Linked DNA regions of Homo sapiens: regions 2, 3, 4, 5, 6 and 7 are each linked to region 1. The links are contacts of gene promoters, found by promoter capture Hi-C in blood cells and fetal thymus (Javierre and others, 2016). All regions are on one chromosome and are shown on one strand. Each heading gives the region's core, a stretch centred on a gene start or on the middle of the fragment in contact. The rest is flanking DNA. Distances are from core to core; before and after follow the strand shown. Region 1 holds the start of SLC2A3 (solute carrier family 2 member 3). Region 2 holds the start of MIR200CHG (MIR200C and MIR141 host gene). Region 3 holds the start of LPCAT3 (lysophosphatidylcholine acyltransferase 3). Region 4 holds the start of RBP5 (retinol binding protein 5). Region 5 holds the start of PEX5 (peroxisomal biogenesis factor 5). Region 6 holds the start of CLEC4E (C-type lectin domain family 4 member E). Region 7 holds the start of CLEC6A (C-type lectin domain containing 6A).

Region 1 (3,778 bases), core at 870-3,369:
ATACTAAAGAACTTATCTGGAGATAAGAATGTGAAGTTAACTTGGTAAAAATGAAAGAAAATTGGGGAAGGAAGAAGTTAAGAGAAACTGGGTTGGTCAGTTTGGAAATATTTAAAAACTTGCATCAGGCAAATGTAGGCATAGAATTCCACTCACGAACTGGGAGGGCAGAGAAAAAGACAGTCTCGGGTAGGATTACTAAGAATTGACCATTCTGGAAACAAATACAGTGCAGTCTGATCTGTACCCCAGACTCCACGGAAGCCCACTGGTGGTGGTGGAGGGGGTGGTAGTTTGTGTCTTCACTGCTGGGTGGCTCTTTGAGTCTCTTATCTCTCAGGACCATGTAACCTACTGGATCTACTCACTGCATCCTGGCCCCATTTCAGTCTTCGTTTATTAAATACAGTTCTGCTATCCCTAACTCCCGCGCAGGGGAAGAAAGTACTTACTCTGAACCCAACATATAAGGGCGAACCCAACATATAAGAGACATTTCTTAGTGGGGAGAACCGGTCATCTTCACCTTGCCTGGAATAATTCAGCCGGGCGAGACATTTTCCATTTCTACCTTGGGGCAGCTCAATTTTTATACCTGAGGCCAACTTCTACGCCATTCCCCCCCACCCCACCACCCAAAATCCCTTCAACCTTTCATATCTTAAACTCCTTTCCTTTCAGGTCGGGCAGATTAGGCAGCAGGCTGGGAGCTTCAGCAGGAGAAGTGACCTTGCCTGCAGCCTCCCAGATGTCTCAGTCCCAGCTAAGCATCGGTACCCCGGAGGGCCCTGCCAGTGCAATGCTCTGTTAAATCTTTTTCCGTTTAGTAAAAATCTCTTCTGTCTCCTCTCATCATTCACTATCTTTGAGAGCCTTTTCTTCTTTAGTCTCATAATTTTCCATCCCTTTCTTATTTTCCTACATTTTCTTTCTTTCTGCTTTGTAGAGATGGGATCTCACTATATTGCCCAAGGCTAGTCTCAAACTCCAGGCCTCATGTGATCCTCCTGCCTTGGTTTCCCAAATGCTGGGGTTATAGGTGTGACCCACCACACCTGGCCCCTTATTTTTAGTTAAATTTATCTTGGTAAAAAATGCCTTTCTTGCTGCGCGCAGTGGCTCATGCCTGTAATCTCAGCACCTTGGGAGGCCGAGGCCGGCGGATCGCCTGAGGTCGGGAGTCGAGACCAGCCTGACCAACATAGAGAAACCCCGTCTCTACTAAAAATACAAAATTAGCCGGGCCCGGTGGTTCATGCCTGTAATCTCAGCTACTCAGGAGGCTGAGGCAGGAGAATCGCTTGAACCCGGGAGGCGGAGGCTGTGGTGAGCTGCGGTCGCTCCATTGCACTCCAGCCTGGGCAACAAGAGTAAAACTCAATCAGAAAAAAAAGAAAAGCCTTTCTCCCTGCAAATAATGCATATACAACACTCAATATTTTAGTATGTCCTGCACTCACGATTTTAACCCTAATAGGAAGGACAACTGGAATTCTTTCTCCTTAGCATCCACGAACCCCATATGTTATAGGACAAACAGATGGCCAGACCCTGGCCTGTGCCTCCAAACACAGACCTTTTCAAGGTCTAATGCTTCCAGAGAAGTCTTCACACTGGCTCTGAGACCCACACTTGTAATCCATACAACCAAGCAGCCCGATCCTCTAAACACTCAACCATCTCGTCCTCAGTGGCATATGGTTACCTAAAATAAACCTGAGAAGCAAACACAACTTCTCCGGGTGACTTTCCTATGATAAGGTGAACAGAACTGTATGACATTCAAAGAGAACTGATGAAGCGGCAGCAGTGCAGGCTAGAGACGAAATGAAAAGGCCTTAAGATAGCTTGGTGACTTAGGAGAAAATAGAACAAGGAGATTACCATTAATATTTGCCTTTCTGAGTGTATCCCAAACAAGCAAAAATAACCAGTAATTATATCATTCTTACCTTCTGTGTCCCCATCGCTGTAATCTAATTCAAGTCTTCAAGAAAGATCTAGGGGTGATTCCAGAAACAGCTTTTTCAGCCAACAAAACCTTCAAAATGTCCTTCTCAGCAGCAAGTTTTCTCCACGTCCTCAGGAAGGATCCAAAGTCTTACCATTACAGCATCTCTGGGTCTCGCTGGGATCATGACTATTTATAATCTCCGCAAAGGGTGGAGCCTGAAAGGGCGACAAGCCCCCAGCCCCACCCCACCCCACCCCACCCCCCTGAAGCAATCTTGTGATCTCTCGGAATTCTGTGTTATCAGAACTACCCCCGCCCCCGCCCCACAGACAATAACGCCCTCCCTCCCCCCTCTCTTAAAACCACATCCTTCCACTCTCTCCACCCTGGGTTTTTTTTTTTTTTTTTTTTTCAAAAGCTCATCCTTACTCCTTCCCTCTTCTAATAGCAGCTAGAGCCTCTTAGTTTCACAGACAAAATACTACCAGAAAAGCCTGGAGGGAGGGCAAATACACTATTTTATGCTCTCGCATCTGCTTGGGATTAAAACAATCTACAGAGAGATTAGAATAAATCTATCCATACAAAACGAAGTCAAGTGGGTGCTACTATCAGAGATTTAAGGTTGTTAGAAAGAGTGTTAGTAAGAATTCTTGATCCTATGAATTTATAGGCTGGGTCTACAATCTTTTTTTTTTCTTTTTTTTTTGAGACGGAGTACACAATCTTAAAGGGGAGGGAAAGACAGCCTGAGAGAAGAAAATCAGGGAAATAATTTTGCCAGTGTTCCTTTCTTCGCATAATCTCACCTGGAGGGAAGAAAATCTGAATTTCTAGGAGCCAGACCAACTATCAGGGCAGTAGGAATAAGAGGTTCAACTGTTTATGGAATACAATCCATATCCTTTTTTTTTTTTTTTTTTTTTTTTTGATATGGAGTCTCTCTCTGTCGCCCAGGCTGGAGTGCAGTGGTGCGATCTCGGCTCACTGCAACCTCCGCCTCCCGGGTTCAAGCAATTCTCCTGCCTCAGCCTCCCGAGTAGCTGGGACTATAGGCGCCCGCCACCACGCCCCGCTAATTTTTGTATTTTTAGTAAAGACGGGGTTTCACCATATTGGCCAGGCTGGTCTCAAACTCCTGACCTTGTGATCTGCCCGCCTTGGCCTCCCAAAGTGCTGGGATTACAAGTGTGAGCCACCGCGCCGAGCCCTATATTTAATAAGGCATTTGCCATATCACCCATTCTGAATTCTGCATCACTTTCTGCTAGTCTCAAGCTTATAGCATCTAGAAATGCAATAAATACCGAATTCAATTAAGCAGGTATTTGCCGAATACACGCTATGTATCAGGTACTCTCCAAGAAGCTGGTGATTCTTCAGTGAATAATAGAAAAAAAGGCCGGGCGCGGTGGCTCACGCCTGTAATCCCAGCACTTTGGGAGGCCGAGGTGGGCGGATCACGAGGTCAGGAGATCAAGACCATCCTGGCTAACACGGTGAAACCATTCTCTACTAAAAATACAAAAAAAAAAAAAAAAAAAAAAAAAATTAGCCGGGCATGGTGGCGGGCGCCTGCAGTCCCAGCTACTCGGGAGGCTGAGACAGGAGAATGGCGTGAACGCGGCAGGCGGAGCTTGCAGTGAGCCAAGACAGCGCCACTGCACTCCAGCCTGGGCGACAGAGCAAGAATCCGTCTCAAAAAAAAAAAAAAAAAAGAATAATAGGACAAAAGAGTTCTGACCCACAAGTCATTTATAGTGTTTCCCTTCTTCCCTTTTTATAAAGTATAAAAAGGGACTAGGGCAAGTAATTCTCACATAA
Region 2 (3,778 bases), core at 379-2,878, 970 kb before region 1:
GACTACACACGTTAGTTCAGTCTAGGCACTTCTGTCATTCTCATTTTACCGTGGCGGAAACTGAGGGACAGAAAAACTAAGTAACTTGGTCACTTGCCCAAGGTCACAGGGCTATGGAACAGTGAGGCTGGGATTCGAACCCAGGCTGTCTGACCCCAGAGCCCACACTCCTTACCCTGGAGTTGCAGCTGGGGCCACCCTCAGGGGGGCCCTGATCACACTCCCCTGATGCTGAGTTCCAGATCTGAACTAAGAAGAGTAGTTAACAGCCGGAAGCGCAGACCTGAGGCCAGCCCGGCTGCGTCCCCTCTGGCGGGAACAGGGACAGGCTCCTCAGAGCACCCGGGCACGCCCAGCTCCTCCCCTCATCCAGGCCGCTGCTGCCCTTATCCTCTTGGGCAGAGTTTGAAGAGCTGGCTGACGTGAAGAGTGCTTTGTTTTTTGTCCCCTCTTCCTTCCCCCATGTCAGGAGTGGGGTTTCTTCTTTATTTGAAACACTGGTGTCCTGGGGAGTAAAGCCGGTGGGAGTCATCCCTCAGGAAGTGCTGGCGCCCACTCCTGGAAAGGCTGAGACAGCACAGGTCCCAAAGCCCAGAGGCTGGGCGTGCATTACTCAGCAAATCCTTACAGAGCCCCCGGCGTCACAGGCATTCACAGTCCCCCGACCTCCTGGAACTTAGGAGGCTGGTCAGGGAGACAGATTCACAAACCGATCACAAGCATCAAATAATTGCAGGCGGGTATTAAGAAGGAAGCAAACAAAGCCTGGGAGAGAGAACAGCGAGGGATTGAGCAACCCAATAGCTCCCTGGGGCTGTGGCCCTCCAGGGCACGGGTGGGGCAATCACCTGTCGGGCCCAGGTCCCCTCTCCCAGCAACGCCCTTTCTATACAAGCCGCAGCTGCACAAAGGCAAGTCCCACCTCCTCTAACCGCCCTTGGGCTACCTGCCCTTGGGGTGGGACTTGGACTCCACTGAGGGCTGTGCTGTGAGGTGGGTCCGGGAGCAGCTCGGTCCGGAGAGTGGAGCGCGATCGTTCCCTCTGCAGGCCTCAATCGAGGGGCAAGGCTGATGCTCCGGGCCAGCTGGGGTCTCTGGGTAGCGGTGGGTAACTTCACACTAGCGACACCTTGCTGGGACCCGCCTGCCCTTCACAGGCCTGGCGGGGCCTTCTCCCTCCCCTTTCCCTCAGGGGATCCCAGCACAGGCTGGGCACTGCGGGGCGGCACAGCCCAACTCCTGCCCAGCTGACCCCTCGCTGACCTCAGGGATCTCTCTGGCCTGCAGCTCCGCTGTGGGCAGGGTCTGAGGCCACAGAGGAATGGGCTAGTCCTGGGGGCAGCATCTGCTGTGGGGAGGGGACCCAAGGACAGCCCCCGCTTTTTGTACCTCTGGAGACAGGGGTGAGACTAGGCAGGTTGGAGAAAAGAGGCCCCTGGGAGAGGGTGGGAGGCCTAGAGGAGTGGCCAAGCCTTAGAGGAGGTGCCCGTGGCTGGCGCTGGGAGGGAAGGGGTTAAGGCAGTGGGGGGGCAGCCTATGGCAGGAGGACACACCTGTGCGCAGGGTGGCAGGCGGGGCCCAGGTAAGGAGCCTGCGCTGGCTGCCCGGCAGGCGGAGAAGGAAGGAGGAAGAGCGGAGGCCAGGGCGGGCTCTAGGCCGTGGAATCTGGGGCCTTAAAGCCCCTTCGTCTCCCCAGCACCCACTCTCTGGGGGCAGGTGGGCCCGGTGACAGGTAAAGGCCACCAGGGGAGAGGTCCTGGGCTGAGCTTGGGACTGCAGAGGGGGGATGAGGGTGGGTAAATCGGTGTGTGTCGCGGGTCGGGAAAGGCTGCCGGGGGTAGGGGAAGGTGGCTCAGAGGCGGCGGGCCGACGGTCGAGGGGCTTCGGAGGGCCTGCTTGGACTGCAACCTGGGCCTCGTGATCAGCGACCCAGGGTGTGGCTGGTGGCGGGCAGCAGGGCTCACCAGGAAGTGTCCCCAGGGACTCGGGTGGTGGGGGGATGGGAGCCAGGGATCTGCAGCTTTTCCGCAGGGATCCTGGGCCTGAAGCTGCCTGACCCAAGGTGGGCGGGCTGGGCGGGGGCCCTCGTCTTACCCAGCAGTGTTTGGGTGCGGTTGGGAGTCTCTAATACTGCCGGGTAATGATGGAGGCCCCTGTCCCTGTGTCAGCAACATCCATCGCCTCAGGTCCCCAGCCCTTAGCTGGCTGCAGCCCCCTCCCCACTTCCCACGCACCCCGGAAGCCCCTCGTCTTGAGCTGAGAGCGTTGCACAAGGGGTGGTTCTTGTTGGCTGGCTGCCACTAAGGGACACAATGGGCCCCAGCCCCTCCTCCCACCCAGTGCGATTTGTCACCTGGTGGATCCAGAACCCACAGTCGACCTTGAGCTTGGGGTTGGCTCGCCCCCTCTCAAGAGACCTCACCTGGCCTGTGGCCAGGGTCCCCTGTAGCAACTGGTGAGCGCGCACCGTAGTTCTCTGTCGGCCGGCCCTGGGTCCATCTTCCAGTACAGTGTTGGATGGTCTAATTGTGAAGCTCCTAACACTGTCTGGTAAAGATGGCTCCCGGGTGGGTTCTCTCGGCAGTAACCTTCAGGGAGCCCTGAAGACCATGGAGGACTACTGACCAACAACCTCTGACCTTCACCCCTCTGGATGGGGGACGAATCACTAGGCAAAGGGGAACAATGGGAAGGAGACAAAATGGCTGCCTTTACAGCTGCAGCAAGATGTGGAAACACTGGTTCCCTAGGCACCTCCATTGTCTTCCCGCCTTGGGAGCATGAAATAAATAAAGTGTGAAGGGGAACATGAGGAAGACTGATCCAAGTCACTTGACCTGTCTTTTGTCTAGTTGTTTATCTCATCTTAGCCTCCCAGCAACTCAGGATTGGGGCTGCGACGTCTGCTTTGTCTTTCATGATACTCAACCCCAAGCAGAGAAAAATATCTTAAAAATCGAAGCAGATTAACCCAGTCCCTCTGTTCAGATCCACCTGCTGCCCTATCTGCATTTGGCAGTTCCTGGACATACTTTGCACCTATGTTTTGTCTGAGTTCCACATCTTCCTTGTCTCCCCGCAGGGATGGGAAATGGGCAGTAGTGGGAGATTCAGGTATAAACGGTGGCTCTGTTTCTCTGGTGCCTGAGATTCGGGAAGGCCTGTCTTGGGAAGATAAGTGTCAGCTTATCTGTGGACTGAACAGACAGGCACCTGTTCTGTTGGCCCCGGAACTGCGGGCATGAAAAGCCCACCTCCCCAGGGGAGGCCTGTTAGCTAGCAGCTCCTCACGCCTGGTGACTGAGAAATGGAGTCTGGGGGGCCTACAGCAGGCCACGCGATCCACTGGGCTTCTGGGCACAGAAGTGCCTCAACAGGCACAGGCAGGCTCCCCACAGCCACAAGGAACCCTGCTGCCAAGGAAGCAGCTCCTGTTGGGGTCATCAGATTTTTAATCTGGCTCAGCAAAGCCATGGCTGTCCAGCCTTAAAAAAATGGGTGATGTGGGAGAAATGGAGGGTGTGTGAAGAGCACAGCTGGGCCTCGAGAACTCAGGGCCAGCCTTCCCAGCTTGGGTCCTGTTTCGGAGCCCAGGCCTTGCTTCCCCTTAGCCGCCCCAGCCAGATTCTTTTGCGCCCCCTGCTGGCACACACAAAGACAGACCCAGGAGCGCACATGTGAACGTGCGCATGCTTGCTGCCAGTTACCCAGTTCATGAACACGTGAAGCCTTGACTTCAGGTTAAGTAATAAAAATTTATTGAGAATTCCTGGGTTGG
Region 3 (3,778 bases), core at 581-3,080, 920 kb before region 1:
CAAAGTGTTACGATTATAAGCATAAGCCGCTGCGTCCTGTCAAATGTAAACACTAATTGCTAATTACAATGTCAAAAATAACTGGGTCAGAAACAAGGATGAAAGAGTAGGAAGTTCAAAGCTGGTGTAGTGCAAATAAGCCTAGACTAGGGTGCTGATAAATTTGGATGATGTCTGGGTGACACTGAGCAAACTGCACAACCCCAGTTCCATTCCATCTTTAAAATCTTACGATTCCACAGAGGAAGAAAAAGGTGATCTTTATTTGGAAGAAAGGAAGATCTTGGTTTGATATGTAATAGGAAAGTAACAATGCTATTAGGCAAGGTTGTTTAAATATGAATTAATGCCTATCCCATTATCTAGATTGGGTTAACACCCTCTGGTGATATTATATATCAGTGTTTCTACTGAATACTGGATAAACGCCAAACTTCTCTCTGGCATTTAAGGCTTTCCACACCTGCCCAACTTTATCTCAAACTTCTCATGGTTCAGACCTCTAACCCTCTGCTCTAGCCCCAGTCCTGTTTCCTTATCACCACTTACAGCTTTTGCTTAATCCTTCCCACTCACCCGCTCCTAAAGTTCTATAACCTTCATAAAACGTTCCAACTGCTTAAATTTTATGTATATATATGTACAGGTACTTCCCAATCTTGGCCCTTCTACAGGACTTTATGGCAATCCTATGTGGTAGGCACTGTTGTCCTCATTTCATAGATAAGGAAATTAGGCCCAGAGGGTTTTGCGGCCTGCGTAGGGTCCTTCAGTTTGTGAGCAGCAACAAGGCTGGATCTGATTTGTTTGCCTTCAAAACCCATACTTTTTTCCATTGTACTATGCTACCTCCATGTATTAAACCATGGAGTGAGGATGCGGTAAAAAAGCCTATAAACCAGTTGTAATACAGCTTGTTGTGGCATAAATTCAGATACACCACATCCTTTGAACCACACGTGTAATAAACGCTTGGAATAGTATGGATCGATTTTAAGGAGGTTGTTAGTCCTGTTTCCCAAGTCCAGCATTAAAATGATATTCCAGGGTAAATGACAGGTAGGTGGCTTGGAAAATAAAAAAAGCAACATGGTATAAAAAGAAAATAGTAGGACTGGGACAGAAAAGAGACGAAAGTATAATATAAGCTGGCAATAAGCAAAACAGGCGCTCAGAATATGAAATATGGAATATGGGGCTGAAAAGGCCGAAAGGGCTAAAGTTAGGGGCCCTATGCCTACCGATGAGATGCGCGCGTGTGCGGGGTGGTTATTAATGACAGAGCAGGACACATGGCCAGACAGTGGAACTCAACAGAGCGACAAATAAAGACAGGTCGTGGGAGCAAGGGTAGAGCCTGGCACAAGAGGGCGGGGGCCCGACTGAGAGGCCAGAGGGCATGGCAGGGGTTGAAGAGAAAGATGAAGAGGTTCAGAGGGCACAGCGCCCCAGACTCGAGACAGGACTTCTGTCTTCCCTCAGTAGCTGTTGGTGTGCTTCAGGATTCACACCCGCACCCGGCACAGCCCTCCCGGGTGGCTCCGGGAAGAGAGGGAGGTCCTGTCCCCATTCCTCCCCTACTCCCCGGGGACTCCGCGAGGGGCGGAGGGAGGCAGGAGGGTCCTTACCCAGGAAGATGGAGATGATCAGCCGCAGCGCCTGTTCTGACGCGCCCAGGGACGTCGCCAACTTGTTAAGGCTCAGCTCCTGGAAACCCGACTGCAGAACCCCCGCCAGCGCCACCACAGTCCCCTCGTCCCCCTCCGCTGAGGACGCCATCTTAACTCCGGGAGCCCCACAGGGACCCCCCAGCTCCGCGCGCCCCGAATGCGGGCAAAACGCTATCGCTTCACCCCCAATTCCGGCTCGGGGCCCGCCCACGGCGTGCGCATTGGCTGGAGGCCCGCCCCGCGGCGCCAGCTCACCCCGTTATTGGCCGACCTGCGCAGAGGGCGGGGCCTAGCGCGGCAAGGTAGGAAGAGGGCGGGTCTGAAGGTTTGTAAGGCAAAGGTGACTCCTGCCGAGAATGCACACGGGGAGGCTCAGGGCTGGGCGGGGCTTGGCGTCGGGACCCAGAGCTGCCATTGGAAAGGTCTGAGCCCGTGGCCCGGCGACAGTTCAACTCCGTTCGAAATGCTCCCAGGAGGAGCCCTCCGGGGCGACCGTCCGGCCGGCCGGTTCGCTGCCTTCCCATTGGCTGAGGCGGGAGCAGGCGAGAGTCTGGACGCGGGGGGGCCGCCCGCGCGCGAGGTTACTCCCGGTCGCCGGCGCTGGGGTTACTGGGGCATGTAACGGGGAGGCGGGAACGCCCGCGCCGCCTTTCGCGCGCCCCCTAACGGCGCCTCCCGGCCCGTTCTTAAATTCTTAGGTTGTTAGACTCGTCGCCTTCACTCCCGGAGGTTCAGCGGAAAGCCCAGTGCCCCAGGAACAGACATTGTCTGCTCCTTTTATTTCATGGATCCCTTTTCCATGCAGTTTCCTGTAGTAAAACATGACCTTCCCCCTAGAGGCGATGAAATTAAGATATGCCTATTTAACACTTATTATTTTAATTAAAAATTCAAATAATTTTGCACTGAGTAATACATGTTTATGATAAAAGTTATAACAGTATAGAAATGTAAAACAGAAGAGTCCTGTTTCCCCTCCCTGCTTTTCATTCTCACTTCCTACAGGTAATCCTGTTAAGATTACGCCAAAAAAAAAAAAAAAAAAATCTGTCGAGCACTTACCATATGCCAGGGACTGTGCTGGGCTTGGGAATAGAATCAGGAGCCCAGAGCCACGGAGTGGGAGGATGCACAAATAATAGCATCAATTAACGTGTTATTGCAAGAGAAGGTAAGTGCTCTGAAGGAAAGGGTCAAGGTTCTGTGAGAGTATGTAACAAAGGAATGCTAAGAGTTTCTTGCAATAACTCTTAGTTACAATAATTTGTGGCGCATTCTTGTAAAATTACAGCTTATACTTCTGTAGCACTTGCACTTTATAAAGCACTTTCATCCGTATTATTTCACTTGCTTTGGCTGCGCAATAGAATATTTATTATGATGATGTCCTCTTACAGACACAGAGGCTTGGAGAAATTAAGAAACTGGGTAAGTTCCTTTACAAGTAAGCGGCAGACAGAATTTAAACCTAGGTCTGTCAAATTCCCTACCCCTACTCCCATTTTGGGCAAGATTTTAAAAAACAAAATATTTCATTCACACGGAAAAGTAGAGGATAATATAACTTCTCCAGGTTAAGAAACAAACATCACCTATACATTTGAAAAGCCGGTATATCCCTTCCTGAGGGCATTTCCCTCCTTCCTTTCTCAGAGGTCACCACTTTGCTGACTTTGGTATTTATCAATCCCATGCCTATTTTAATACTTTACATACAGCATATATCCAGAAAGGAAAATTAGTATAGTTTTGCATGCCTTATATTGGCCGGGCACAGTGGTTCATGCCTGTAATCCTAGTACTTAGGGAGGTTGAGGTGGGAAGATTGCTTGAGCCCAGGAGTTGGAGACCAGCCTGGGCAACATAGACCCTGTCTCTACAAAAAAAATAAAATAAAATTTAGATGAGCATGGTGGAACATGCCTGTAGTCCCAGCTACTCAGGAAGCTAAGGTGGGAGGATCACTTGAGCCTGGGAGGTTGAGGCTGTAGTGAGTCGTGATCATGACACTGCGCTCCAACCTGAAAGACAGAGCGAGACTCTGTCTTGCAAAAAAAAACAAAAATTATATATATAGGCCTGTAATCCCAGCAATTTGGGAGGCTGAG
Region 4 (3,778 bases), core at 632-3,131, 810 kb before region 1:
TTGAGATAGAATTTCGCTCTTGTTGCCCAGGCTGGAGTGCAGTGGTGCGATCTTGGCTCACTGCAACCTCTGCCTCCCAGGTTCAAGTGATTCTTCTGCCTCAGCCTCCTGAGTAGCTGGGATTACAGGCATGCGCCACCATGCCTGCCTAATTTTTTGTATTTTTAGTAGAGATGGGGTTTCTCCATGTTGGTCAGGCTGGTCTCGAACTCTTGACCTCAGGTGATCCGCCCGCCTTGGCCTCCCAAAGTACTGGGATTACAGGTGTGAGCCACTGCACCTGGCCTAATTTATGTATTTTTAGTAGAGATGAGGTTTCACCATGTTGGCCAGGCTGGTCTTGAACTCCTGGCCTCAAGTGATCTGCCTGCCTCAGCCTCCCAAAGTCTTGGGATTATGGGTGTGAGCCACCACGCCCAGCCTTTTCCCATATGCTTTAAATCATCTCTAGATTACTTATAATACCTAATGCAATGTACATGCTCTGTAAATAGTTGCTATACTGTATTGTTTTTTATTTGTATCATTTTGTATTGTTATTTTTTATTTTTATTTTTCCCAAATATTTTTCCATTTGCAGTTTGCTGAAGCTGTGGATGCAGAACCCATGAATATGGAGGGCCAACTGTATTTTGTAGGCAGTTGAAAACATTGCCCTGGAGCTCAGGAGATGGCTCTGGCTGGAGAATTCATGCCAAGGGCAGCCTATAGATGGAAGCAGAAGGCATGGGTGTAGATGATTTAGCCTATGGATAGTGGGCAGACAAAAGGGAGAAGACATTAAGAACAAAACTCTGCGGAGAAAACTCCAGTTTAAAGGATTAATAGGAGGACTAGGATCTGCAAAGGAGGCTAAGAAGGAATATGTAAGAAGTAGAAAGAAATGCAGGAGAGTGAAGTTATTGATGCTAAAGTAAAAGGGACTCTGGGTGACCAACAGTGTCACAGGCTGGAGGGTGGGCAAATGTTTGCTCTTCGGTCTGGGTTGGCCTGTTCTTTGCCCTTTGGGCTGGTGATAAGAGGGGGCAGGGAAGAAGTGGGAGAGAGACAGGGAGCACCAGGACCTGTTAGTTCTGGAGACTGGTATCCTGGGGACTGCATTCCCTGCTGTGGTGACCATTCCCCTCCTCCCCGCTGCTCTGGCTGGGGAAGGTCACTTTGTTTTGCCCCATGTTGTTAGGAGTCTCCTGTGATGCCTCCTTCCGGCCACCGCCCAGCCAGGGGAAATGTACCTGGCATTTTCGTCCGTCCACGCTCCTGAGGTCCTCCTCAAACTCCACTCCCACATCAAACTGCACAGTGTAGTTTCGGAAGGTGCTGAGCGTCCTCACCGTCATGTGGTTGCCCTGGTGTTCGATCTCCTTGTCCGGCTTCAGCAGCAGCGCGATCTTCCGCACAGCCAAGCTGATGTCTGTGGGGGCTGCCTGTTAGTAGGGGTGCTGCTAGCCAGCCAGGAGCTCCTCTGCCTGCAGCAGCCCCTCAGGGCTGTGAGTTTCCCTTCTTTGGGTCTGGGACTGTGGATTCACCCCCTCCTACCAATGCCTGGTTAGAAATGGATCCCAGGTCTGGTGCCAGCCGCCTGAGCCTTTCCACAGTGTCCAACCCCGGGCATTCCCTCTTCTCCATGGGACCAAGAAGCAGGAAGGAAGAGGGGAGAAAGGGAGTGACAGGGGTCTGGGAGGGCGAGGCCATTACTTAGGGCTTGCAGGTAGTCCTCCATGTTCTTCTGCGAGACAAAGCGGTAGTAGCCAGTGAGGTTGGGAGGCATTGTGTGGATGAAGGTTTCAGGAGAATGCAGGAGACAGGGTGAGGAAGGAGGGGGTGTTGTCTGGCAGGTGAGGCTGAGAGATTCCAGCCAGCTCCACACACAGAGACAGGATGTGTAATGGCCGGGTTACCAGGGCTTTTTATAAGGCTGGGGCCCTGTTGCAATAAGAGTCCCTACCAGACTTCTTCCCTCCCCGCATGGTGAGTTTGGGGGTGGTGTCTCCAGCCTGAAGGAGGGGCAGGGATTTGGCAAAGTTGCGCCTGACCTTGGCTTTTCCTGAGGAAGGAACCTGGAGCAGGATCCTTCCTGAGGAAGGAACCTGGAGCAGGATCTGGGGCTGTCAGTCATCCAAAACTCAGCCATCCAAAGGTCAGTGTTGGCCTCCACCTCATTTCTGGCAGGCTTGGGAACCGTCCCAGGGCCTGAGGGGCAGTCTTTCCTGGGAGACACCTGAGGCTGGTCTGGCTGTGTGAGGTGGAGATGAGTTCCAACAATATCCTGAGATCCTGGGACTGAGTGATGTTGGAAGATGTGAGGGGAGGGGGTGAGGATGGCCAGCTGCCACCATGAAGAGCACCCTGTAGGCCTGGCTCTCAGAGCTCCCTCAGGTAGTGTGCTCAACTGGGACCCCAAAGTGGCATTCCAGACTCTTGGTCCTAAAGAGCCATTAGGAGGGAGGTGGAGCCCGAGGGGTGCTGAGTTCAAAGTCCGGAACAGACAGCCTGAGAGGAGTTTGTTGGCTATTCTGGAGAATTTTATTCTTTTTGGCTTGGGACCCAGGGGGTTTTCTCTCCCTCTGAGTCATCGATGAGACCGTAACCCCCAGTCCCCAGCCCTAGGACAGCCCATGCTTTCCAGATGTATTTCTGTGAAGGTGGGGTGGAGGCGCCTAAATAATATTGTGCCCCGCCCCCAGCTGCCCAATTCTCTCTCGAACCTGCCATCGTCCCGGGCTTCAGAATCCACTGGGCTTGGTTCATCATGGTTTAAGGTGAAATTCGGGGCGAAGGAGGCAGGACAGGTAGGCAGGAGGAGGCGGCCGGTCCCGACAGGTGCGTGCGCGAGGGGTGCACGACGTCCTGCCCCTCCTTGGGTCCCAGAGCCTCGATACCGCCCTGCGGACCGCCCTGTGGCTTCCTCGCAGCCCTGGGCTACAAATGCCAGGATTTCTCAGGCTCAGACTGAGGGTTTTACTTCACCCTTCCCAGAGGGCACGCAGCACGGATCTGTGGATGGAAGGGGCTGTGGAAACAGGTTATGGCAGAGTTGGGGGGCGGGGTGACGCGGTGCCACCCCTCCTGGCCGCCCTCAGGTCCCGCTGACGTCTCTCTTCCCCACCCCCTGGCTTCTGGCTTCTTTCTCCCCACGTCCCTCTTCTTTCCCACCCCCTCCGTGGCTCTCCAGCTTCCTCCCCAGCCCCCGCAGTTCCTCGGCTCCCCCAAAATTGCAGCCAGGGGAAGGAGCCTTGAAACTCTCCAGCCCCGACGCCCCAGTCTCATTGGCTCCCTCCCCCGCTGCAGCACCTGGTCCCCCCCCCTCCCAGTCACCTGATTGGCCGGCGGCCCCATCAATCGTTGCCCGGCTGTGCTGACGTCATCCTGCAGTAGCGGGGTTGGGGTGGGAGTGAGAGAGTGAGGACGCTGGGCTGGGGGAAACGGGAAGCCGCTGCAAGTCCACCGCCTCAGCTACCCAGATTGGGATCTGCCCAGGCCCGCTTTATGGACTAGTGTGGGCGGCAGGCTCCTTTCCGTCCCTGCCCTGCTGTACCCCGCTCCTTGGAGACCCCCTGTATCCCTCCCGCAAGGTGGAATCCGCAGGCTGGAGGCTCCCAGGGGAGGCAAACGCCTGGCCCTGCCCTGCCCCACGCCGCACCATGACCCTCCTGCTGCTGCCCCTTCTGCTGGCCTCTCTGCTCGCGTCCTGCTCCTGTAACAAAGGTGAGTGAGGTGGGGGTGGGGGTACCGAAAGAGGGGCGTCGGGCAGCGCCGTGCGGGGTGGGGGTGGGAAGGA
Region 5 (3,778 bases), core at 580-3,079, 750 kb before region 1:
TGATTCTATGGCCTAGGAGATCAAAGATCTCCATGGTTTATCAGTAAGTCTTCTCTAAGACTGGGAAGTAGGTGCCTAGAGTTATGCCTGGATTAAATTTTGACTTCCTAGCCATCTGATTTTGCACAAGTCTTATCTGTAAAGTGGGTCTACTAATATCTATTTAATAGGGGTATTAAGAAGATTAAAAACATTGAGATACATAAAGTGTTTTACACAACACCTGGATTTTAGTAAACATCAGTTATTATTATTAGCATTCTTCCAAGATCTGCACACAAAGTGAGTTACGGCTAATCAGTTGATAAACTCCTAGCAGAGCAGAAGGTTATGTGTGTTGTGATGTTTAAGTGGTACTGGGAAACTCTGGTTGCCTTGAGGTTCTGAAATTCTACTGTATCAGATGGGTTCCTTTAAACATTGCTCTCTCTAGGGGGTCCTCTTTTTAAAAGTATGCACCTTCTGGAGGGCATCTCTTCATCCTTGTGTGGTTTAGTTTATCAGGTATTTTCCTCACGATGGCAGCCTGAGAACAGGGGACGCCCAAGGGCTGGGATTTGTGTGCTCCGGAAGAAAACGGGGTGTAGAAGTGGGGCCTCTGAAAGAGGGCGAAAAGGCAAGGAAAAGGAGAAATGTTGCACAGTCTTATGGTCTGTCCCCTGCCATTCTGTTCCCCTGAGGTGTCAGAGCAGCTTCTCTGTCTTCCCAGGGATGAGTTTACACAGACATTCCCTGTGGCCCCCTGAGGCCTCCACCTCTGAAATCTGCAGAACAGCCAGGAAACAAGCCCGGCCCATGGCGCCACCTGCTGCCTGCCTGCCTCCGCTCATGCACCCTGGGCTGGGATGGTACTTCTGTTCGTCTGGCATTATTGCCCTTGGTCATTTACCGGCAGCCCTGGGCCCCTCCTTGCTCTTCTCCATGACACTAGGACTCCCTTGGTCTTGAAGCTGGGTGAGATTATCAGGGTTTGTTTCTCAATGACTTTGAGGTTTGACAGCAGAGCACACTCTTTGGCAGATGAGGGGGCTTGAGGCTTAGTCTTATTCCGTGATTAAAAGCATTTCTTGTATGTTTGTCCTTTCCCAGCCTGGAGTGATGGGAATAAGGCCACTATGTTGACTTAGCGGAAGGAAGGGCTGACTCACTGTTCACCTTCCCTGTACGTTACCAGCTCGAGGTCTCAGGATGCGTTGGACCCTATTTTGGTCTCCGGAATTTGTCATCATGCAGTGCTATTTTCCCCATTATGCAGAGGTGGAGAGGGATTAAGGCGGGGGCGGGCCCCTGTCTCCATGGAGACAGTGACGCTACCCCGCTAGGGGTTATTTGGAAGCGGGGCAGGCCTAGGAGGCTGAAGAAGGCTTCGGACTGGACTCCCCAGCCCCTGGTGTTAGGGCTTTTCTCTTTCTTGGGCTTGGGAACATTAGCCAGCCCCATTTTAGAGGGGAAAACTGAGGCTCAGAAAGGGCACTGAATCCCCTTAGGTCACAATGCGCCCAAGGGAAGAGGCAGGATCGACTGAGCCTAGGATCTCGCGTCTTCGGCTTTCCCCCAGAGCCTGGGAAGCCCTTCTTAGCTCCACTCTTCTTTGAGCTTTCCGTCAAACAAATCCTAGGGCCCGTGGCCTTTTCGAGCGCTCCTAAAGGCGACTCTCCAAGACCCGCTCTCTAAGGTGCTCTTCCCCTTTAAGACTCACGGCTCTTCCCGTCAGGCTGCGTCGCAGTCTTAAGGCCCCGCCTTTTCAGACAGCTTCCGCTGGGCCTGGGCCGCTGCGGGGCGGTCACGGCCCCTTTAAGCCTGAGCCCCGCCCCCTGGCTCCCCGCCCCCTCTTCTCCCCTCCCCCAAGCCAGCACCTGGTGCCCCGGCGGGTCGTGCGGCGCGGCGCTCCGCGGTGAGCGCCTGACCCCGAGGGGGCCCGGGGCCGCGTCCCTGGGCCCTCCCCACCCTTGCGGTGGCCTCGCGGGTCCCAGGGGCGGGGCTGGAGCGGCAGCAGGGCCGGGGAGATGGGCGGTGGGGAGCGCGGGAGGGACCGGGCCGAGCCGGGGGAAGGGCTCCGGTGACTTAAGGGGAGGGAATGCTCCTCTGCCGTGCTCACCGCGTGCTGGGGCTGCGCGGGGCTAGGTATGGTCGGGCTGTTTTCCCACTGTCCCTTCTTCGGGCAGTGTCGCCGTCCAGCCTGGTTGTTGAAGCGTCCCCGTGGTCCCCCGGGGTCCAGGCCCCTTTGTGGAGGCAGCTGCTGGCCCCCAGCCCATGGGACCGTAGTCGCGGAGGCCTCTGCAGAGGCGCAGGCTGGAAGCGGTGGCCTTTGAGGGGGGCGGCAGGAGAGAGTACCGACCTCCCTCGAACTCCTGGCAGAGGTGGGGGTCGCAGCAAAAGCACTGGGGTGGAGGGCGGCCAGTGTGGGGCAGACGCCTGTGTGCCTTCCTCAGATACGGGCAGAGTTGTGGATGTGAGAAGGGTCTGGCTTGGGTACCTCAGTTCCAAACCTCCTGTGTCCATCAGAGAGCTGGCGGTCACCATGGCAATGCGGGAGCTGGTGGAGGCCGAATGCGGGGGTGCCAACCCGCTCATGAAGCTCGCCGGGCACTTCACCCAGGACAAGGCCCTTCGGCAGGAGGGATTGAGGCCTGGCCCCTGGCCCCCCGGAGCCCCGGCCTCTGAGGCAGTGAGTGTTCTTGAGGTGGAAAGCCCAGGTGCAGCCTCTGAGGCAGTGAGTGTTCTTGAGGTGGAAAGCCCAGGTGCAGCCTCTGAGGCAGTGAGTGTTCTTGAGGTGGAAAGCCCAGGTGGTGGTGGTCTGAGGTGGAGGGGCTGTTTGCACATCTTGGTATAACTGCTTTCTCTATTGTGTTGCAAATCATAGTAGTTACCACTTACTGAGCGTTTATAAACACTAGAAAACCCTGTGCACCTTTAAATAAATGCAACCATTTTATAGATGAAGAAGCCGAGGCTCAGATGCCTATGGGCTTCATCAACCCCTGATTTTAGAGGAACTGCGTCATTGTACATCTCTGTCTTTCTCTCTTAGGCCTCCAAGCCTTTGGGAGTAGCTTCTGAAGATGAGGTAAATAGACCAGTCTCTTTTCTGTCCCATTTTTCTCTTGCCCACTGTGTTTTTACCTTTAAACTTAGTTCACCCGTATTTCAATTTTTGGGCTTTCCTGACCGAATGAGAATGCCTGCTTGTTTTTAAATGTATTTTTTCGTCCTTCTAAATCTATGGAAAGACAGTTTCTCTTTATGTGTCTCCAGTTTCTGTGTTTTCCTTTCCTTGTATCTAACATTGGGATCCCCCTCCAGTGGGTCCTGCCTCTTGCTGGGGCCTCCCAAGCCTATGGGTTCATTTCATCATTTCCCTTCTGGCAGTTGGTGGCTGAATTCCTGCAGGACCAGAATGCACCCCTTGTGTCCCGTGCCCCTCAGACCTTCAAGATGGATGACCTCCTGGCTGAGATGCAGCAGATTGAGCAGTCAAACTTCCGCCAGGCTCCCCAGAGAGGTGAGTCCAGAGTCTAGTGGGAGGGGAGATCGTTTTCCATGTAGCCAGGGCCAAGGAAGGGGGTTCCATTGGATGCTGCTGGCATTGGGGACCTGAGATGCAGAAGGAGACAAAAGTAACAGAGTGTTTTCACGTGGATTCAGGGTTCTTTAGGCATGATGGAATGGTATGTATGTATTCTTTCTTAGTTTTCTCTCTCTCTCTTTTAAGCCCCTGGTGTGGCAGACTTGGCCTTGTCTGAGAACTGGGCCCAGGAGTTTCTTGCAGCTGGAGATG
Region 6 (3,778 bases), core at 839-3,338, 600 kb after region 1:
TGTCATGTAGCATTTTGCTAGGACTTGCAACAGGATGACATAGAAGAGCATAGAGAGTATATTTGTGAGATATTTATAAATTCTCTACTCCATACGTTTTTTCTCCATCTCATTTTGGAAGTAGGTGAATGAAAAAAAAGGTACACTCCTGGGAATAATACCTTCCACTTCCAGATTTACTGTTCAGACATACCCCTCAAATTTATTCTAAAAGTTTACTATAATGTCCCCAAGACTTTCTGCCCCAATGCTAATTGCATCACCAAATTTCTAGGATTTTACATTTTGCTTTTGAAAAATAAGACCTAATCCAGCTATATCTCACCTGTCCCAAAGTCAATCTAGAAGCCAGAAAATGTTGCTTTGTAAATTTTGATGTTCACCTTTGGGACTATTATACCTGATCCATAATTGTAGCAGGAGAGCTCTGTGAAATTCTCAGGTAGCTGAAACTTTTTCTCATCACAGGTTTGAAAGATGCGAAATGTCACTGTAAAAGAAAGGGCATAATGTTTGTTAGTCTTATTTCGGTTAAAAATGTCAGTTCCCTCAGTTTTGTATTTATAACAAAAGTGCCAATAATTATCATGTTTTTTCTTACAATCTGCTTTTTCTTACGACCCAGAGAAAATAGATATGTTTGCACTACCTCTTATGCCAAGTCCAACTCTCTCTACCCTTCCTTCCAAAAGTAATTAGTCATATCTCTGGTGCCGACCAGTAGTTCAAGCTCTAAGGCAGACTCTCCTAGAGAAGGTTACACTAATGATAGAGGCTGAAAGAGGAGGATTCAGGACTGCCAAGGAAGTGAAAAATGTCTATCATGAAAAGTAAGTCACAGGTGATTAAAATTCAGAAACAGTTCCCTGCTTGTTGAGGTTTCTGGTTTGAGAAATAACCTAGAGATTAATAGGGAAAAAAAAAAGGGTGAAATAGAAAGACCCTTTGAGGGCAAAGAGAGTCTACAGGCAGCATGGAAGAGTTTTCTCCTAATATGCACCAGGAAGAATTAAATTGAATTTGACCTTCAGAACCCACCAACACATCTGGTGATGAAACAGGCACTGAGAAATAGGATGGGGATCCCAGCAACAGTCCATAAGAACATTTGGGAAGAGAAGCATCCTCTCTCTGTAGAAAGAAAGACACAAACATGATCAATCTTCCCTAAGCAAGGTACAAAAGAGATAGAAGAGATTCTTATTCATCCTTACTTATTTCCTTCTACTTCCATTGTTTGTACTGAGTAATTCCCAAATTTCAGCATGCTTCAGAATCACTTGGAGGGTTTATGGAAACACAGATTGCTGACCCTTACCCCCAGAGTTAGCAACTCAGTAGAGTTTGTATGGAACCAACAAGTTCCCAGGGGCTACTGCTGCTGCTGGTCTGAGGACCACACGTTTAGCACCCCTGGAGTAAGACTCTGACTCATGAACTCAGATATACAATTTTTCCTTTCTAAGTCTCTCAGTTAAATTTTTTTCAGTATTTTCTAAGGCCCCCCTTCTTTCTTTTTCTTTCTTTTCCCTTTTCTCGTCTTTGCTTTTCTTGTCCTTCTCCTGATCTTTTTTTTTTTTCTGTGTCTCACTTTTCAAGCGCTTTGTAAATTAGGTAAAATGTTAACAGTCATCTAATAGTTCCTCTCTTCCTCCCATTAAACATTTTACAGACAAAGAGAGTTCCAGAGAAGTGAAGTGACTTGCCAAAAGGGACACAATGTATTGCAGAAAGGGTGGAAACTGATAGCTCTCCCTTAGCTAGAGGCCAGCAGGCTTTCTGGTATAAGAAATAGTCTTTAAATCTCTCTCTCTCTCTTCCTCTGTCCCCCCACTTTTTTTTTTAACTTCAGTGAATACTTTTCTATTGTCCTGTCTTTCACCATATTTATCACTTGTTCCAAAAAGAGATCTATGGAAGGAAAGGAAGAGTTGCAGATTTTACCTGTGCATTGTGTTTCAGATGATTTAGATGAATTCATTTTTTCTCTCTCTTTGGTTTTTTGTTTCTCTCTCTCTCTTTTTCTCTCCCTCCCTCTCTTTCTTTCTCCTCAGGAGTGTTTTGTTGGTAAGATTCAGGGAGAATGAATCTTGAAAGATAAACACTTTGTCTTTTAGGAAGTTCAGCTCCGATAGATGTAGAATATTAACTTGTTCTGTGGCTACGCATTAAGTCAGGATTTCCTTTCTTGCATAAGGAGGACAAGGAAGTTTATTGGACAGCATGTCAGTTCTCTTCACTCCATGTAACAACAAAATGAGGAAATTATGAAATGGTAAGCATCAACACAAATAGGCTAGCCATGGGGAAACAGGAGAGTTTTTTTTTTAAATGTTGTTTCGTTTCGTTGGACCAAATGTCTCTAGTTTCTTCAAGGCATAACTCATCCCCCAGTTTTTCCTTGACAATATGGAGCTCACCTCTGCACTCTGAATTTCACTTTGGATCTGTACCATCCACACATTTGGTAACTGAAAAGAAGACTTAGACAACATAGCACAAAGCTGGGCATATAGTGTATGTATTTAGGACATGGCAACCTGAATTTTTTCATCTTTTTTTTTTTTTTTTTTTTTGAGACAGAGTCTCGCTCTGTCGTCCAGGCTGGAGTGCAGTGGCATGATCTCCGCTCACTGCAAGCTCCGCCTCCCGGGTTCAAGCCATTCTCCTGCCTCAGCCTCCCGAGTAGCTGGGACTACAGGCGCTCGCCACCACGCCTGGCTAATTTTTTGTATTTTTAGCAGAGACGGGGTTTCACTGTGGTCGTCAGGATGGTTTCAATTTCCTGACCTCGTGATCCGCCCGCCTCAGCCTCCCAAAGTCCTGAGATTACAGGCGTGAGCCACCGCGCCCGTCCTCTTTTTCATCTTTTATGGTTTTTCTTTCTTCTTCATTTGCAGCTCTTGAATATTCTAATGTTGTGGATTTATGTCCCTCTTATCTTATGCTGACTACTAGGCTGCTACTACTAGGCTGACTACTAGAGTCCCCCTCAGCAGGACAGCCTCATGTGATTAGACCACTTTGAAACTCAGCTTAGTTTTTCACAACATAACGCAGCTTCTGAAGTCTCAGAGACCCAGCAGGCAGTTTAATTCTCCTGTTCTCAATTATTTGGGGATTTTAGTTCTATGTTACAGCCTACAGTAGGAGAAATGTATTTGAAGGTCAGAAAAAGCAATTTCAATTAGATATTAGAATTTAATGGTTCTCTGGGCCGGGAGCAGTGGCTCATGCCTGTAATTCCAACACTTTGGGAGGCCAAGGTGGGTGGATCATTTGAGGTCAGGAGTTTGAGACCAGCCTGGCCAACATGGTGAAACCCCACCTCTACTAAAAATACAAAAATTAGCCAAGTGTGGTGGCACGCATCTGTAATTCCAGATACTTGAGAGGCTGAGACAGGAGAATAGCTTGATCCTGGGAGGCAGAGGTTGCAGTGAGCCAAAATTGCACCACTGCACTCCAGCCTGGGCGATAGAGTGAGACTCTGTCTCAAAAAAAAAAAAAAAAAAGAATTAATGCTTCTCTGGAAGAATAGTTAGATATGTGCCTTCTCCTTACTTAAAGATACTTAAGAATAAGATCACACTGGTCTCAGTTTATTTAAGTTCACGAGTCAGGAGGCATAAGTATGATGTACATGACTTGGTAAATCCCCACATCCAGTGACTCACGAATTTTCCATGTGTGAGAAAATATTCTTGTTCTCAAAGGGACTTTTTATTATTTCAAGGTACTGGTCAATTTTCTCTGCATTCTCTGTTTTATAGTAATA
Region 7 (3,778 bases), core at 368-2,867, 520 kb after region 1:
CTTGTAGGTTGCCTTGGGAAGTGGTCTAGAGAGCAAAGGAAAGACTGAAGATTTTAAAGAAAAAAGAATGAATCTGAAAAATCATGGAACCATCCCAAATGCTCATCAATCAATGAGTGGATAAAGAAACTGTGGTATAGATATACAATGGACCACTACTCAGTCATAAGAAGCAATGTATTAATAGCACTTGCACTGACCTGGATGAGATTGGAGACTATTATCCTAAGTGAAGTAACTCAGGAATGGAAAACCAAACATCATATGTTCTCAATGATATGGGGAGCTAAGCTACGATGACACAAAATGTATAAGAATGGTACAATGGACTTTGGGGACTTGGGGGGAAGAGTGGGAGGGGGATGAGGGATAAAATATTACAAATATGGTGCAGGGTATGCTGCTTGGGTGATGGGTGCACAAAAATCTCACAAATCACCACTAAAAACCTTACTCATGTAACCAAATACCACCTGTACCTCAATAACTTATGGAAAAATAAAAATTAAAAAAAGAATGAATCAGGAGAGGGAGTGAATTAAAAAGTTACTCATCAGTAAATTATCATTGGTTTACAGAAACCACATTGATTAGTAATTAGCTGTATACTGTTAAATTTTAGGGTTCAGTTAGTCTAGAACCTACATAGCAAATGGCTTCAAGAGGTAAATTTCGTGCAAGGTGGCAGTGAGGCATGACTCCTGTCATATCTCTCTCATGAGTCCACTCTGGACTTGATAGTTTCAAGGCACTCACATTCCTCAAATAACAGTTTTTTTTTTTTTTCGTTCTCAGCACTCCATAGATTTATGGCTGTTTGTTAACATACTATTTAAGCAAGGCCTGTAAGCCACTGCCATGAAAGAGATAAATACATTTGAACTGAGTTCTCTCCTGAGTGATGGGTATAACACACATTGATAAACTGCTGCTTTTTCTCTTGTTTCTCTGCCTTTTGTTTTCAGGACAGTGTCTCTACTAAGAATCTATGAGGACAAGAAAACATCATATATTTTCTGTGCTACAATATAAAATTCATGAAGCCTGTTTCTGATTTTATATCACTTCAGGCTCCCTTTTGCCTAATCAGGGAGATTACAAAATATCACTGACATCTGCCCAATATTAGTCTGGATGCAGTAAGAATGTTTCATCACCTTTGCAGACTGATTTCAGAATGTTTCATTTTGCAGTCACATTCCTTAACAATGTTCATGGGTTTTGTTATTTACTATGTTACCCTTCATATCTAAACCATATCCATCCAATCAAACTTTTGCTTACTACCTAGGACACTGTTCAACACATGGATTAAGGCTTGCATAAAATAAGCAGCCAATGTAAAGGTTAGTTAGGGAGCACTTAATTTAACCAAGTTCTCTAAATAGATGTCTTTTAGGAGATAAAAAATTTTCTATTTTGCATGCCAGAATGAATAGGAATCAGACAGAGAAATTTTATGTTAGAAACTGAAGAAATGATCTAAGTATTCTTGTCAAAGTTCTCATGAATGGTTTTCAATGTTTCTCAATTCCTCTTTTGTTTTTTTTAACCCCACGTATCGAAATCACTGGAAACTTTAGTTGTAATTGTGACTTCTTCTTTTGAGGTACACTTAATGTTGGAAGTCTCTTAGTCCTATAAGAGTGTGTAGCAGTTTGTCCCTGAGCTCTAGCTTCTTTAAATGAAGCTGAGTCTCTGGGCAACATCTTTAGGGAGAGAGGTACAAAAGGTTCCTGGACCTTCTCAACACAGGGAGCCTGCATAATGATGCAAGAGCAGCAACCTCAAAGTACAGGTGAGTATTTCCTCAGTTTCAGAGGAAAGTGGAAGTGTATGGTGAAATGAGATCACCTGGAGAGAAGAAGTAGCCAAAGAACAGATTGAAGAGCTAGTGATTGGACCAATATAGTAGACTCAAAGGAATTTGAAAGAAAGAGTAATTCTTCAGAGCCAGAGCCATAAGCACTTGAAAGAATAAGAAAGCAAATATTTTTTGGGAGGTTTGTACCAGATTTTATTGATAGTTTAGGGAGACAGAAAAGATTTACATGATAGAAGGTAAACAGGGAAATAACTGATTATTGGATGTCTGCTCTTCAAAGTCTTTTGACTAATTTTGAAATCCAGGAAGCAGTACTCTTTCCAATTACCCTAAGTTTTTTTGTACTTGCTTTTCTAATTTTTTTGTAAGAGAAAAGCTTCCCATTTTTAATGCATGAAAATTTGACTTTAGCTTCAACCCTTTGCATGTCCATCAATAATGTTTTAAAAAAATTTTTATTAAAATTTTTTATGGATACAAAATAGTTGTGCATGTTTATGGGCTCCATGTCATATTTTGACACAAGAATATGATGCGTAATGGTAAAGTCTGGAAAATTACATTATCCATCACCTCAAATATTTATCATGTCTTTGTGTTTGGAACATTCCAAATCTACTCTTCTAGCTATTTTGACATATGCAATAAATTATTGTTGGGTTAGGCTCAGTGGCTCACACCTGTAATCTCAGCACTTTGGGAGGCTGAGGTGGGTGGATCACTTGAGGTCAGGAGTTAGAGACCAGCCTGGCCAACATGGTGAAATCCCGTCTCTAATAAAAAGACAAAACTTAGCTGGGCATGGTGGCATGCACCTGTAATCCTAGCCACTCAGGAGGCTGAGGCAGGAGAATCACTTGAACCCAGGAGGTGGAGGTTGCAGGGTGCCAAGATTGCCTCATTGTGCTTCAGCCTGGGTGACAGAGTGAGACTCCATGTCAAAAAAAAAAAAAAGTTAACTACAGTTATCCTGCTGTGCTAAGGGACACTAGATTTTATTTCTTCTAGCTAATTGTATTTTTGTAGGTACGAAACAACCCTTCTCTATCTTCTCTTCCCAGTTAACCTTCCTGGCCTCTGGTAACCACCATTCTATTCACTACCTCCATGAGATCAATTTTTTTAACTCCCACATATGAGTCAGAATATGCAATGTTTGTCTTTCTGTGCCTGGCTCATTTCACTTAACACGATGTCCTCTGGTTCCATCTGTGCTGTTGCAAATGGCAGGATTTTATTCTTTTTTATGGTGGAATAATATGCCATTGTATATATTATACTACATTTTCTTTATCCATTCATCTGTTGATGGACACTTAGGTTGCTTTCATATCTTGGCTACTGTGAATAGTGCTACAATAAACATGGGAGTGCAGATATCTCTTGGATATACTGAAGAAACCAAATATCAATACAGAGATATGAGAAATGGGAGACAAAAGTGATGTTTTGAGAAACGAAATCAATGGAAACATGTAATAGTTTAGAAGAAAGAATAAAGACATGGAAATTCCAGTTGGTTGAGTGTATGTTTTACCTGTATTCTTTTGGACCACAGAGCTACTACCTGGTTATTTATTCTGAGGGAGTTTGTAAGCTGTCTTCTTGCTTTAAGTTTTTAACTGCTCTGAGGTTCTTCATCTAGTTTGTTCATTGTTGTAAGCTTCCTGGGGATTTTGGCTCCCTGGCCCCCTGGTAACTGCATTTGTTGTCTTCCTGATTGGACAGAGAAAAGAGGCTGGTTGTCCCTGAGACTCTGGTCTGTGGCTGGGATTTCCATTGCACTCCTCAGTGCTTGCTTCATTGTGAGCTGTGTAGGTAAGTTCTTCACTGAGGTGCATTTTCCTTGCTTCCTTTCCCTTGAATATTCCATACAGGTTTCCTAGGATATATTCTCCTTTGCCCCATTAATACGTCAGCTCTTACTTGGAATGCCACACTTTCCTTGATTTC

What was found. The method cuts DNA at HindIII sites, captures the fragments that hold promoters and counts their contacts. A CHiCAGO score of 5 or more calls a contact.
Region 2: the fragment with the promoter of MIR200CHG here is called in contact with the fragment with the promoter of SLC2A3 in region 1 in 5 of 17 cell types (naive CD4 T cells, naive CD8 T cells, neutrophils and 2 more); the score reaches 10.7 in naive CD4 T cells.
Region 3: the fragment with the promoter of LPCAT3 here is called in contact with the fragment with the promoter of SLC2A3 in region 1 in 5 of 17 cell types (total CD4 T cells, total B cells, naive CD8 T cells and 2 more); the score reaches 8.6 in total CD4 T cells.
Region 4: a contact is called between the fragment with the promoter of RBP5 here and the fragment with the promoter of SLC2A3 in region 1, in 9 of 17 cell types (naive CD8 T cells, total CD4 T cells, activated CD4 T cells and 6 more). The highest score is 10.7, in naive CD8 T cells.
Region 5: a contact is called between the fragment with the promoter of PEX5 here and the fragment with the promoter of SLC2A3 in region 1, in 2 of 17 cell types (M2 macrophages and erythroblasts). The highest score is 7.7, in M2 macrophages.
Region 6: a contact is called between the fragment with the promoter of CLEC4E here and the fragment with the promoter of SLC2A3 in region 1, in 2 of 17 cell types (neutrophils and monocytes). The highest score is 17.1, in neutrophils.
Region 7: a contact is called between the fragment with the promoter of CLEC6A here and the fragment with the promoter of SLC2A3 in region 1, in 7 of 17 cell types (monocytes, erythroblasts, M0 macrophages and 4 more). The highest score is 13.4, in monocytes.

What each region holds. Positions count from the first base shown.
Region 1 is chr12:7,934,068-7,937,845 of GRCh38, forward strand. SLC2A3 (solute carrier family 2 member 3) reads right to left here and starts at 2,120. Exons shown (of 10, transcript NM_006931.3): 1 at 1,953-2,120. The coding sequence starts at 1,967. RefSeq lists an enhancer at 228-1,181 and a silencer at 2,249-2,298. The HindIII fragment of the contact is 4,746 bases long and covers 1-3,230 here.
Region 2 is chr12:6,961,617-6,965,394 of GRCh38, forward strand. MIR200CHG (MIR200C and MIR141 host gene) reads left to right here and starts at 1,629. Exons shown (of 2, transcript NR_135032.1): 1 at 1,629-1,732; 2 at 2,585-2,831. MIR200C (microRNA 200c) reads left to right here and starts at 2,083; the gene lies at 2,083-2,150. MIR141 (microRNA 141) reads left to right here and starts at 2,481; the gene lies at 2,481-2,575. It overlaps LOC105369634 (a long non-coding RNA gene), which reads right to left and starts at 1,483. Exons shown (of 2, transcript XR_931601.2): 1 at 923-1,483; 2 at 16-505. It also overlaps PHB2. RefSeq lists enhancers at 1-741, 1-482, 291-500, 742-1,543, 3,326-3,375. The HindIII fragment of the contact is 14,599 bases long and covers 1-3,778 here.
Region 3 is chr12:7,016,646-7,020,423 of GRCh38, forward strand. It overlaps LPCAT3 (lysophosphatidylcholine acyltransferase 3), which reads right to left and starts at 1,831. Exons shown (of 13, transcript NM_005768.6): 1 at 1,629-1,831. The coding sequence starts at 1,779. RefSeq lists a silencer at 2,182-2,441. The HindIII fragment of the contact is 11,114 bases long and covers 1-3,778 here.
Region 4 is chr12:7,127,008-7,130,785 of GRCh38, forward strand. It overlaps RBP5 (retinol binding protein 5), which reads right to left and starts at 1,882. Exons shown (of 4, transcript NM_031491.4): 1 at 1,696-1,882; 2 at 1,233-1,411. The coding sequence starts at 1,768. CLSTN3 (calsyntenin 3) reads left to right here and starts at 3,364. Exons shown (of 18, transcript NM_014718.4): 1 at 3,364-3,705. The coding sequence starts at 3,642. RefSeq lists a silencer at 3,121-3,220 and an enhancer at 3,662-3,778. The HindIII fragment of the contact is 14,463 bases long and covers 1-3,778 here.
Region 5 is chr12:7,187,857-7,191,634 of GRCh38, forward strand. It overlaps PEX5 (peroxisomal biogenesis factor 5), which reads left to right and starts at 1,830. Exons shown (of 16, transcript NM_001351132.2): 1 at 1,830-1,894; 2 at 2,506-2,668; 3 at 3,032-3,067; 4 at 3,370-3,502; 5 at 3,713-3,778. The coding sequence starts at 2,522. RefSeq lists enhancers at 315-816, 817-1,316, 1,627-1,686, 1,687-2,403, 2,397-2,546 and 2 more and silencers at 727-776, 1,797-2,206. The HindIII fragment of the contact is 37,708 bases long and covers 1-3,778 here.
Region 6 is chr12:8,538,817-8,542,594 of GRCh38, forward strand. It overlaps CLEC4E (C-type lectin domain family 4 member E), which reads right to left and starts at 2,089. Exons shown (of 6, transcript NM_014358.4): 1 at 1,945-2,089; 2 at 1,039-1,131; 3 at 401-490. The coding sequence starts at 1,981. The HindIII fragment of the contact is 5,761 bases long and covers 1-3,778 here.
Region 7 is chr12:8,454,345-8,458,122 of GRCh38, forward strand. CLEC6A (C-type lectin domain containing 6A) reads left to right here and starts at 1,618. Exons shown (of 6, transcript NM_001007033.2): 1 at 1,618-1,798; 2 at 3,554-3,643. The coding sequence starts at 1,768. The HindIII fragment of the contact is 4,980 bases long and covers 1-2,199 here.